Linked DNA regions of Homo sapiens: region 1 is linked to region 2. Evidence: promoter capture Hi-C in 16 types of primary human blood cells and fetal thymus (Javierre and others, 2016). All regions are on one chromosome and are shown on one strand. The core of a region is centred on a gene start or on the middle of the fragment in contact, and the rest is flanking DNA. Distances in the headings are between cores, read along the strand shown.

Region 1 (5,545 bases), core at 2,509-5,008, 180 kb after region 2:
ACAGGTGAAAAAACACTGTAGCAGCTCTCATTAGCAGAAAGACACAATGAGTCCAAGGGGCACCCATGGCTGGGGAAGAGGGGGTCAACACAGCCACCTGGGGGACTTCACATGAAGGAGTGAGCAAGAACCAACACCCCAGCAGGCTCCGAGCTCCTGCCAGCTCACCAGGTCTTAACCAGCTATGGAGATAATGACACTACTCCTCTTAAAAAAAGTATCTGAAACCAGATATTTGAAACTTACCTTCTTCTTAACGTCTAGAATAAAATGTTAAAAGTGAAGAAAAAGGGCCAGGCGCGGTGGCTCATGCCTGTAATCCCAGCACTTTGGGAGGCCCAGGCGCGCAGATCAGCTGAGGTCGGGAGTTCGAGACCAGCCCGACCAACATGGAGAAAACCTGTCTCTACTAAAAAACACAAAATTAGCCCGGCGTGGTGGCACATGACTGTAATCCTAGCTACTCGGGAGGCTGAGGCAGAATCACTTGAACCCAGGAGGCAGAGATTGCGGTGAGCCGAGATTGTACCATTGCACTCCAGCCTGGGCAACAAGAGCGAAACTCCGTCTCAAAAAAAAAAAAAGTGAAGAAAAAGAGTTAAGATTGGAAGGGAAGAACTTGATACTTCTGCAGTCTGAGGGCTGGGGTGTTTCTTAACAAAAGCAACGCTAAACCAAGGCCCAAGCCACACCTTTATGTCTTGGTAACAGGGAAGCTTCCACCTTGGAAAATTAGATGAAAATCAAGGATTCTAACAAGCCAAAAACACCAAACAACAGGAAGAACAAGAGGAGTGATGCATTTATACACACACACTAAATAACCCCAAGATTTAAAAGGTTAAGGGACACAACTCGTCACTTACAAAAGTGGCAAAAAGCATTTCAATAAAAATCCCTTTCTGGGCTGCAGCGGAAGGGTAGGTGGCACAGCCATGTGGAAAGCGATCTGCAACGTGTGCCAAGGGGCCTAATTCACCCAAGAACCCAGCCTGAGCATCAGAAGTCCAAAGAAGTGTGTACGAAGACTTTCGGCAAAGCCCACCCACAAGGATGTCCAACGCAACACTGGGAACACGTGAGCACCCTTCAAGACATGCATGAGGATTTTCTACATATTTGTGCTATAAAATTAAGTGAAAAAAAATCCCAAAACAGAAACAGATACGTAGTGTTGTTAACTACCCAATAAAGACAAAATACAGTCATGCATCACATAACAACACTTGGGTCAGTGATGGACTGCATGAAACAATGGTGTGTCCCATAGGATTATAATACCACAGTTTCTACCTTTAGATAACAAACACTTCCCATTGTGTCCCAATGGCCTGCAGTACTCAGTCCAGAACCATGCTGCGCGGGTCTGAGGACTAGGAGCCATAGGCTGCCCCACACAGCCTGGGCATGGGGCAGGCTCTACCATCTAGGTGTGTTCATATGGCAACAACATCACCTAACAATGCAGCTCTCAAAATGCATCCCTGGTGTTAAGCGATGCTTGACAATAAATAGAAAAAGACTAGAAGAAAGTGCACCAAAGTGTTAACAAAACTTGTTCTCTTCATGGAGAAATATTGGATGTTTTTCACTTCCTTCCTTCTGATATTCTATATTTTCAGAGAGAAGAAGCAACAATTGGTGTTAAATAAAAATAGAAGGCCACAAAAACCCCAATACATTAAAAGGGACACCTGCCAATGGGAAGCCTGAGGGGGCACCTTATGGGTGGAATTAAAGCTACTAACTACAAGAGCCTTTCAGGACAGATGAGGAGAGACTTTCCCGCCACCCACAGAGGACTCACTCTGGAGGGGTATCACCCACAAAATCAGCTGTTCCAGAGATCTGTCAAAAGACAAGGACCAAGGTCAAGTCTTCCATCAGGCTGAGGAGATAACCTGAAGCTGAGATCAGACAACTTTCATGGGAAGGGAAGACAGAAAAAGACAACAGCAGCAGGGGTCACCCCTCAGGATGCCTTCTAGAAGCAATGCTCAGCTCCAGCTTCTTCCGAATTGTGAAGATGACTCCCAGGCAGGGGCCATGGGGGATCCCAAATGTCCAGTCTCAAGAGGCTGCCCTCCCTGTAGACCCTCCTTAGCTTACCCCCGCAGCTCCAGCTCCAGCTCTGTCCCAGCCAGAGAAGGCTGCCCGGGGTCTGTCAGTCACCAGGGGCAGGAGGTGCCGAAGTCCACCTCTGCAACCCAGAAAGGGATGTCCAGGATGCGTAGGACCGTGGAGGGAACAAGAAGCAGGGCTTACGGTACTGGGCTCCAACAGGAAGCGCTCCCAAGGGTGAGCTTCGCTTCACTGGGAATGTATGGCCTCAGATAGAAATACAAAGCACATTTGACACCGGATGAAAAGTGACATCACCAAGATGCCTGTGGAGGATGGGAGCCCAGTACTCTGCAGGCAAGAGCAGGGAGGCCAGACTGGAGACAGCCTGGGGTCAGGGCGCAGTAAGTGCTGGCCCCTTGTCCAACCTGTATGGGGCATGTCCTCAAGCCTCGGCAACTCCGTCCTGACCTCATGGTGTCCTCTGCAGGACTGAAGCAGGCACAGGTGTGGGCCATGGGGGAGGTCACACACCCACACAACTCTCAGAACATGGGGAGGCCTGTGGGGATAGGCACACCTCGTGCATGGGGCTGACCCCTATAGGCATGGAAAGCCTCACTGCCTGTAAAGGGGAAGCAGGGCTGCCTAGAGGCCCACAGTGAGGGCCACAGGGAACTGTGAGCAAGTCCGGGCCCTCAGATCTCCCAACCGCTTGGCAACAAGGCAGGAGTGGCCGGGCCCTAGGCACAGCCTTGCTCTCTGCAGACACAGTAATGATGCTTTTCTCACCCTCCTGGATCGCAGCTCTCAGAAGACACAGGAAGTCACTGGGGAGCTTTGCTCTGACTGAATTCTGATGCAGAAGGAGGCTCAGTCAGGCAGAAGAAAAGTGGCTGTGTGACCTCAGAAGGTGTAAAAGTAGGAGGTGAGCCAAGGCCAAACCAACAAACCCCCGTGCACGAGAGGCACTGTCACAGGCTGCAGTCACCAAACAGCAGACCTCATCACGCAACTGCAGATACAAAGAAAGGAATAAACAAAGAGCGAGCCACAAGCACAGCTCTCCAATGAGCTCAAATGAGACAAGAAGGAACATCACCAGGAAAGAAGCCACATCAGCTGCGTCAGCCTAGAGCGCCACTAAAAATCCCAAATGCAGAATACATCACTAGTTTAAACAAAATGCTAGCAGTAACAGAAAGCTAAGACTATTTCAACTAGGTCCAGCTAAAAATTGTAAAAGGGAGCGACCAAGGGCTTGGGCACATGTTATACAGTCAGAAAAAAACAGAGAACATAAACGTATGTGCTTTCAGCATCCACAGTAGGAAGTATGGCCCAGTTAACAGTCCTGCAGGACTGCACAATGGCTTTCCACTTAACCTGTTCTAAGTGATTCTGTAATGGATATCTTTGTGTATAAGATCTTTATTTACGTTTCTAATTATCTCCTTAGAACGGACTACTAGAACAGAAATTAGTAAATCAAAGAGTATAAACTTTTTAAAAATTAATCTTTTTTCCTGAGTATCATACATATCCATTGTAGGAAATTCAGAAAATATTTAAAAAACAAAAAAAAGTAAAAGTGATTCGTGATACTATCAGTTACAGCCACTTAGAACATTTTCATCTATTTTCTTCTAATCATTTTGTAATTATAACCACATCATGCATCTTCTTTTGTAACCTGCTTTTTCTACGTAACTGTAAACACATCCTCATATAAAGGACTTAATTCATCCACTACAAAATAATCATTTAAATTATTAAAATATACAAAATCATGCTGTATGGCAAAAAAAATACATATATATATGATCTATGAACCAGAAATCTTAAAACACAAGATGAGAAGAGAAACAGTAGAAGGGCACCTGACCGCTTGAGCTTCACACCTTCAATGCCCAGACAAATATCCCAAGCACTAAACAGGTACCAAAGGGACACCAAAACTCCCCAGGCAACAAAACAATTTGCAGAAATGATCTGAAGCTCTCAGACTCTCAGAAAGGTCACGAAACTGGAACAACTGGAAGTGAGCAGCTTTGTCCACACATGTGATCAATTTAGTTGGCTGGTAAGCCAACTAAATGGCAAAGTCTTTCCTGTCACCTCTGTCAGTAAGAAGGAAAACATCATGACAGCTTAGTGTCATGACAGGAGTGGGCCACCTTCTGCCCCTGCTCCCCAAGGCTGAGGTGGTCCGGAAGGGGCTCAGTGCCCCAGACAAGTGCATGATCCAGATCTGAAGACACCTAGGAGATGGAATGACAAACCAAACCTAAAGTGACCTTCATAGGACAGGACACTGAGCCAAAACCAACAAGCTGAAGGCGAAGGAGGCAGGCGCAGGCGTCACACAGGAGAGAAATCCTGCGGCAGTGCATAAAGGGGCAACCTGTGGACTTCACTAACCTGAGATGTGGCCACTGGCCCAAGTACTGCACCTTCAGGCTGCAGCGAGGAAACTGTGCCCAGATGGGAAGTTCCCTCATCAAGGAGCCCCCACAGGGTCAGTGTCTGGAGCTCCAGACACACACCAGGGAACATGCCAGGCTGCCGAGAGCCTCTCAAGCATGCCACAGGGTCCACACCACATGAGGCAGAGAACACCATGGTTACCTGTGCCTGGGAAAGTTCAGGTGCACAACCATCCCAAACAGAGGCAGAATGCAAACTGACAGGCAAAATGAGAATCATCCTGGGCCGTCTCTGAGTGGAAGGGCCTTGGGGAAGCTGACCACCTTCTGTCAGGAACACCTTTAAACGCCTCTCTATGGCTGGCCTGCTATTTACCTTCCTGCCCACCCTGGGCACAACCTCCCACCCTCCTGTAGCCCACACCTAGTTCCTCCATCCCCAGGCCTCATTTCCTACAAGTCCTGCGCTGCACAGAAGGCTCTCTCTCATCCCATGTTTGCATACTGCAGGAAGAACATCACTGTGCTCCTTCTAGTGCTGACAGCCAATGACCATGCAGATCTCCTTACCTAGGCCCTCGGCTCCTGCAGGACGAGCTCAGGCTGGCTGAAGGCGCATCATGTTCTCATGGTAGAGGGGATGGGGGTCAGCACAGGACTCATTAGGGACCTTTCAATTCTGAGAGAAGCTGATGTCCTCTCAGAGAAAGCAACCCTCTCCTTACCTGGAAAAACTTGGCAAAGGCCTCCCTCTCTCTTGGACTGAATGAGGTGGATCTAAGGAGTACAGTAGCAGGGTCCACCTGCTCCCACACCCGGCTGGAAGGAGGCTGGGCGCATGCTCAGCATCCACAAGACCACGGACTCCTCCTATTCTACCTCACCCATCTCTTATCCCACTGACACACACCCTCTGCTCGAACTCAACAGGTCCTAAAAAGCTGCCTTCTGGGAATTGCTCTCTCTCCTCCTCGGTCCACAGCCTGAGCAAACAGGCCACAGGGCAGAGCTGGTGGGCTAGGCTTGGTTCAGGTTACCACATCAGGCACAGGCTCCAT
Region 2 (5,218 bases), core at 2,295-4,794:
CTGGCAGCGGGAGCAAGGACTGGCCTCAGCTCCTTTGCACACCACGTAATGGTTTCCCAGATGCCTTCAGCCTCGTGCCACCGTCAAGAGAGGCTTCCCCAGTACTGAGCTGAGGTTCGAGATGAGGAACTGGATCAGGTATGAGGAGCAGAACTGAGAGTTGAGAGGAGAAGGAGAAGGCACACAGGGCAGGGAAGGCAGGGAGCAGAACAGTAGTGGTCCTGCTTTTTTCCACATCCCTGCCTCAGGGCTGCTGACCAGTCCCCCAGTGGCATCAGGAGAAGCATCAGCCGGGGCCCCTTCCTTTGTCTCTCCTCTTTCTGAGACTGATAAGTTACAGGAGACCCTCCCTGCCTTTAATCAAAACTGCGGTAAAATTAAAATATGAAATGGAGACTTCTGCCTGCAAGTTTTAGGCAGTAGCATTATCTTTAGCTGTTGGGAAGCATTCCAGTTGCTGAGCAGTGGAGGCAGCCACTTTTATATAGTAGTTAGGCCCTTTCCTGGAGAATAAGAGATGAAGACCTTTGAAACAGGAGTTCCTCCTGGTGGTGAAGGTTCCAGAACATTCTGGAACAGGGAGCATATCCACCCTGCTTGAATAGCTCCAGGGAGAGGATACTACCTCAAGGCAGCATCTTCCACAGTTGTCCATCCATGGCTGTTAGGAAAGTCTTTATATGGAAACTCAAAAATGCCTTCTGGAAAATTCATTTCTCTCTGCTAGTTCTGTCTTCTGTTAGCCTTTTACAATTAATCTAATCTTTTGCATTTGTGTATCCTGGTTGCTTGCAAAGAAAAAAGTCAGGCCAACCTTGATACCATGAGGAATTCATTATTTACACTCTTTACCTGAGTCTCTTGCTGGGTCTCTTCCACTGCTTTGTTAATAAGTACAATCAAGTATAGGTCCTAAACCTCCCCCAGTTCAGTGTGCAACTGTTTACCAATAGGAAAATAATGGAATGTCTAGGAGAGAACCCTAGATAGCAGTATTTTTTTCTTATTATTCAGAAAGAATGTAGAGAATATTATATGTCATTTAAAATGATATGACTTTTGGCTGTTTTATTTTGAGTTTATTAATGAGGTACAACCTCTGTTTTATTAGTTTTGGCAGTATTCAGGTTACTCTATTTTTAAACCCTTTAAAAATATTAAATCTTCTTCTCAGGAATACTCAATATTTCCCTGATTTAGACCAGTTTTGCCAGTGTTTTCCACTCATGGAAAGCTTTGGATTTTGGTTTCAAGTCTCTCTTAATCAGAGTAGTGTTTGGAGTATTCTTCCAGTGCTACTGCTATTACTAATAAATCATAGTAGCCTAGAGCTAAGAGAGGTCTTTGAGACTTTCCCCCCATGGCCCTCTTTTACTGAGAAAAAGCAGAGGCAGTGAGCGTCCAGAACTGGCTGGAGGTGGTGGAGCTGAGGGCTGGCTTCCTCACTGCTTGTTGGTTGTGCTTTGCACTAGACTGCATGTCCTCCTAAATGGATTTTAATCTCATAGTTACTTCCAGACAGTAAACAGACTTTCCTCTGGAAAAGCCTAGGTAAGGAGGTTTGGCCAAGTTCTTAAAAGAGTTCATAACATATGGACTGGAAATAAAGCTTAAGAAGCACATAAGCTTTCTTGTTTCCATTTAACTGGTCTACAAACTTAGAAAGTTTATCTAAGTGAAATGGTATTTCCTCTCAGACACTATTATTAGGTAAATAAGTCACTGTGCTTTTAAATCCCATGTTTAAAGGCCCGCTTGGCAACTTTTCCCCTGGGTTTAAACATGCCTATCAGTTCACAGGTACCAGTAGCAGATTTCAGCATATAAATGTGATATAACATACTCCATATATTTCACCGAAGGAATCCAAACCAAATTCAGATGTAATCAAGGCATAGTCTTGTAAGCTAACAAATGAGTTAAAAGTCCAACATGCATTTGGAAACTTATTCACAGTACCATTTGTTCATGGATACTGATAAAGATAGCACTTTCCTTAAAAAGTAGTTAATTTTACCTTAGAAGTATAACTAGCATTCTGACAAAGCATTCTAGCTGTTCTTCCTTTTATACTAATTTTGCCCTTCATTAATTTCTCCACATGTCTAGCAATCAAGCTACTGTCTTAAAAAACAAAATCTACTGCCTCTCCATTTTTATGATGTTTCCCACAGTGCCTCAAGACTTGTGCTTGTAAAGTTAATTGTTTTTGTCTCAAACCTCAGATCAGTTATCAGAATATTTGTTTTTAATTGAGTAGTTAGTTGTAACAGAAGACTATATATCCTCTGTTCTTTCCACTACTACACTATACTCCTTAATGCCAAAAAACAAACTAAAAACATCAGGATCCTTTTATGTGTGTGGGCTTGTGCTCGATTTTTCTTTCTTTTTTCATTTCTTTCTTTTAACAGCTTGATTCTTGGATTTAAACAACTTTATTTTTAGGGAAATACAACCCCCTCAGGTTCTTTATGACTCAGTCCCTACACCATGTGGCCACTGTTTCCTGGGTGCCACACCTCTGAATAGATTAACATGAAAGAATGCTGTGCGCTATTTAGATTACTAGGGAGTAGAATATTGAATACATTGCTTAAATTTTTTAATCTAAAATTTAATCAGAAATTTACTTTGGGAGTAGACAAAGGAAATCTTTGAAAGTGTTAAATTCTGACTGTATACATGCTGTGAAAATTTCCTAATCTTTCATATTGAATATAGTGCTAGCTAAACTATTGCTGATAAGTATTCTTTCTTGGAATTGAATAGATTTCCATTTGAACTTTTCAGTGCCATTTCATTATAATAAGGAAGACATTTATCAAGGAAAAAAATGAATATTCAAATGTATAAGTAAAATTGACATTTCAGTAATTCACACATTTTAAATACACATTAGAAAATATTTTAAATATTGAAAAATATATTTACTGTTTCATTTAATATAGCTGTGATATCCCCAAACTTCATGATCATTATTATAGCAATGTTATTTTCCTAGATAAACATACAAGATGTTTATTTAGATGACTTTTAAAATCAATCATGTTAACATTTATGGTAAGGCATAATGACAGGTTTTCACTTAGCTGAAAAAAAAAGTCACATAATTATATTTAAAATACATTCATTATAGGTAAGACATAAAACTAGAATAATTTTAGGTACAAATTTAGGTTTGTATTTAAATGCTGATTTTTAAGAAATTATAGAGATAAACTTTGGACTTTATCCTATTATTTATAAGCATTTATTAATAACATTAATGTCTCCTTAGTATTGACTGTAAAGTATACATCGATACTTGTAAGATAGACATGAAACATACCTGTCAGAAGAGAGTAGTCCTCCTAAAAGTAGAAGTTATCCACCATGTACTACTTATCTATAATGTAAATGTTCTCAGACACTGTGTAAGAAGAAAAGATGAGGAGGTATTACATTTAAAAGAAAAAAAACACCCTTCAACACAGTCCTGGTGTGGCTGCACCCTGGGTGATACTGGAATAAACTGCTCCCACAGATTAGTCCATGTTAGTACTGAGGAGCAAGATTAAAACTTGTTACTGCTCATGTGTTTTCCATCACTGTTTGTATCGTAGCCAAGACTTCTAGCTAAACTCTAGACGTCTACTGGAAGATTCTGAAGAAGAAAAAAAAAGAAAGTTTAATAATGCATGGCAACTGGCCATTGAAAGTGCAGTCGGAGTCATTCAAGAAATACCTAGTTTTAAAAATATTAGATTCTTAAGTGAATGAATATTTGTAAATTACAATTTCAAAAATTACTCAACCTGTATAGACTAATAAAATATTTATCAATCTGAATAAAGGATACCAACATTACTGAAGTATATACCCAAACTTCAGATGTACCTGAGAAAGAACCATACTTTTTTTTTCTTCTAATGACTGTAGCTATTGCATTATGCATACTTCTCCAGACTTTTTTTTTTTTTTAAGCTTTTAGCACTGCTATAGCATGTCAGGGAAACTATGGATGAGGCTCCATGAACTGCTCCCTGGACTCAACATATGTGATATAACACAGACACACATGCATGTCCAAGTAACACCCTCTTAGGATGCATACAACTTTCCCTTTTCAAGAGAATATTAGCTATGGCCTCACTGACATTTAGGGAGACTTAGAGCAGGGAAGATGCTATTTCCTGAAAATAAATCATTATTTGTACCCCCTTTCCACTCATCCCCAAGAGACTGCCCAATTCTACATCAACTAAGACCTTCAAGAGAGGACAGTTTTCTTTTTTTTTTTTTTGAGACGGAGTCTCACTCTGTCACCCAGGCTGGAGTGCGGTGGCGCAATCTTGGCTTACTGCAAGCTCTGCCTCCCAGGTTCACGCCATTCTCCTGCCTCAGCCTCCCGAGTAGCTGGGACTGCAGGCGCCCGCCACCACGCCTGGCTAATTTTTTGGTTTTTTAATAGAGACAGTGTTTCATTGTGTTAGCCAGGATGGTCTCGATCTCCTGACCTCGTGATCTGCCCGCCTCGGCCTCCCAAAGTGCTGGGATTACAGGCATGAGCCACCATGGCCGGCCTGAGAGGACAGTTTTCTAACCCTAGTGGCAAGGACTTACTGTTGTAAGTGACCCCAATGGTTCTTCCCAACTGTTGTATAGATTTGGAGGCCAGCAAAGAGCTTTTCCAGTGGGTTAGAAGACCTGTTCTCTACTGTCATCAAGAGTCTGACCATCGTTTGTTCCCTCTCTCCAGAGAAATGGCACACATTGTGTTAAGCAAGGCAGCTACAGTCCTAAAGAATACATGTGCCTCAGATGTGCATAGCAGCTGGCTATGTGTTCATCCTCCCCTCACTTAAATAAAGTACTCCTCCTTGGACCTCTAGGCTGACAGTTCCAGGCAGCTCGGTAGTCCCATTAGTGGCCCTCTGTAACTCAGGCCCCATCCTAGCCCTGCAGCACCTTAGGGAATGACGGCCCTCCTGTTTGGTTTAGAATGCTCATATTCTCATTTATTCAAGTATATTTCAGTTGCAAATGTATCTGTTAACTGGATGAATTGGGAACATAATGAAAATATGAACTGGATTTTTAAAATCTTTGTATCCAGAGCATCTAGTGTTTGCCTAAATTCCTTCAGAACACAGTCATAAACAGGAAGCCCTTGGGTCAAATTCAGTTTGTCCTGCACAATGTTTTGTTTCTGAACTGTTTATTGAAGTGTATGTTA

Evidence for each region. Contacts are between HindIII fragments. The CHiCAGO score rates a contact against its expected background, and 5 or more counts as called.
Region 1: a fragment that was not itself captured here is called in contact with the fragment with the promoter of ASPN in region 2 in 2 of 17 cell types (megakaryocytes and M1 macrophages); the score reaches 5.3 in megakaryocytes.

The regions. Positions count from the first base shown.
Region 1 is chr9:92,661,953-92,667,497 of GRCh38, forward strand. The region is part of intron 1 of IPPK (inositol-pentakisphosphate 2-kinase); the gene reads right to left. Among named protein-coding and RNA genes, the nearest start is that of IPPK, 5.4 kb to the right of the region's middle. The HindIII fragment of the contact is 6,089 bases long and covers 715-5,545 here.
Region 2 is chr9:92,478,962-92,484,179 of GRCh38, forward strand. It overlaps ASPN (asporin), which reads right to left and starts at 3,545. Exons shown (of 8, transcript NM_017680.6): 1 at 3,332-3,545. The region is part of intron 5 of CENPP (centromere protein P); the gene reads left to right. The HindIII fragment of the contact is 2,340 bases long and covers 1,625-3,964 here.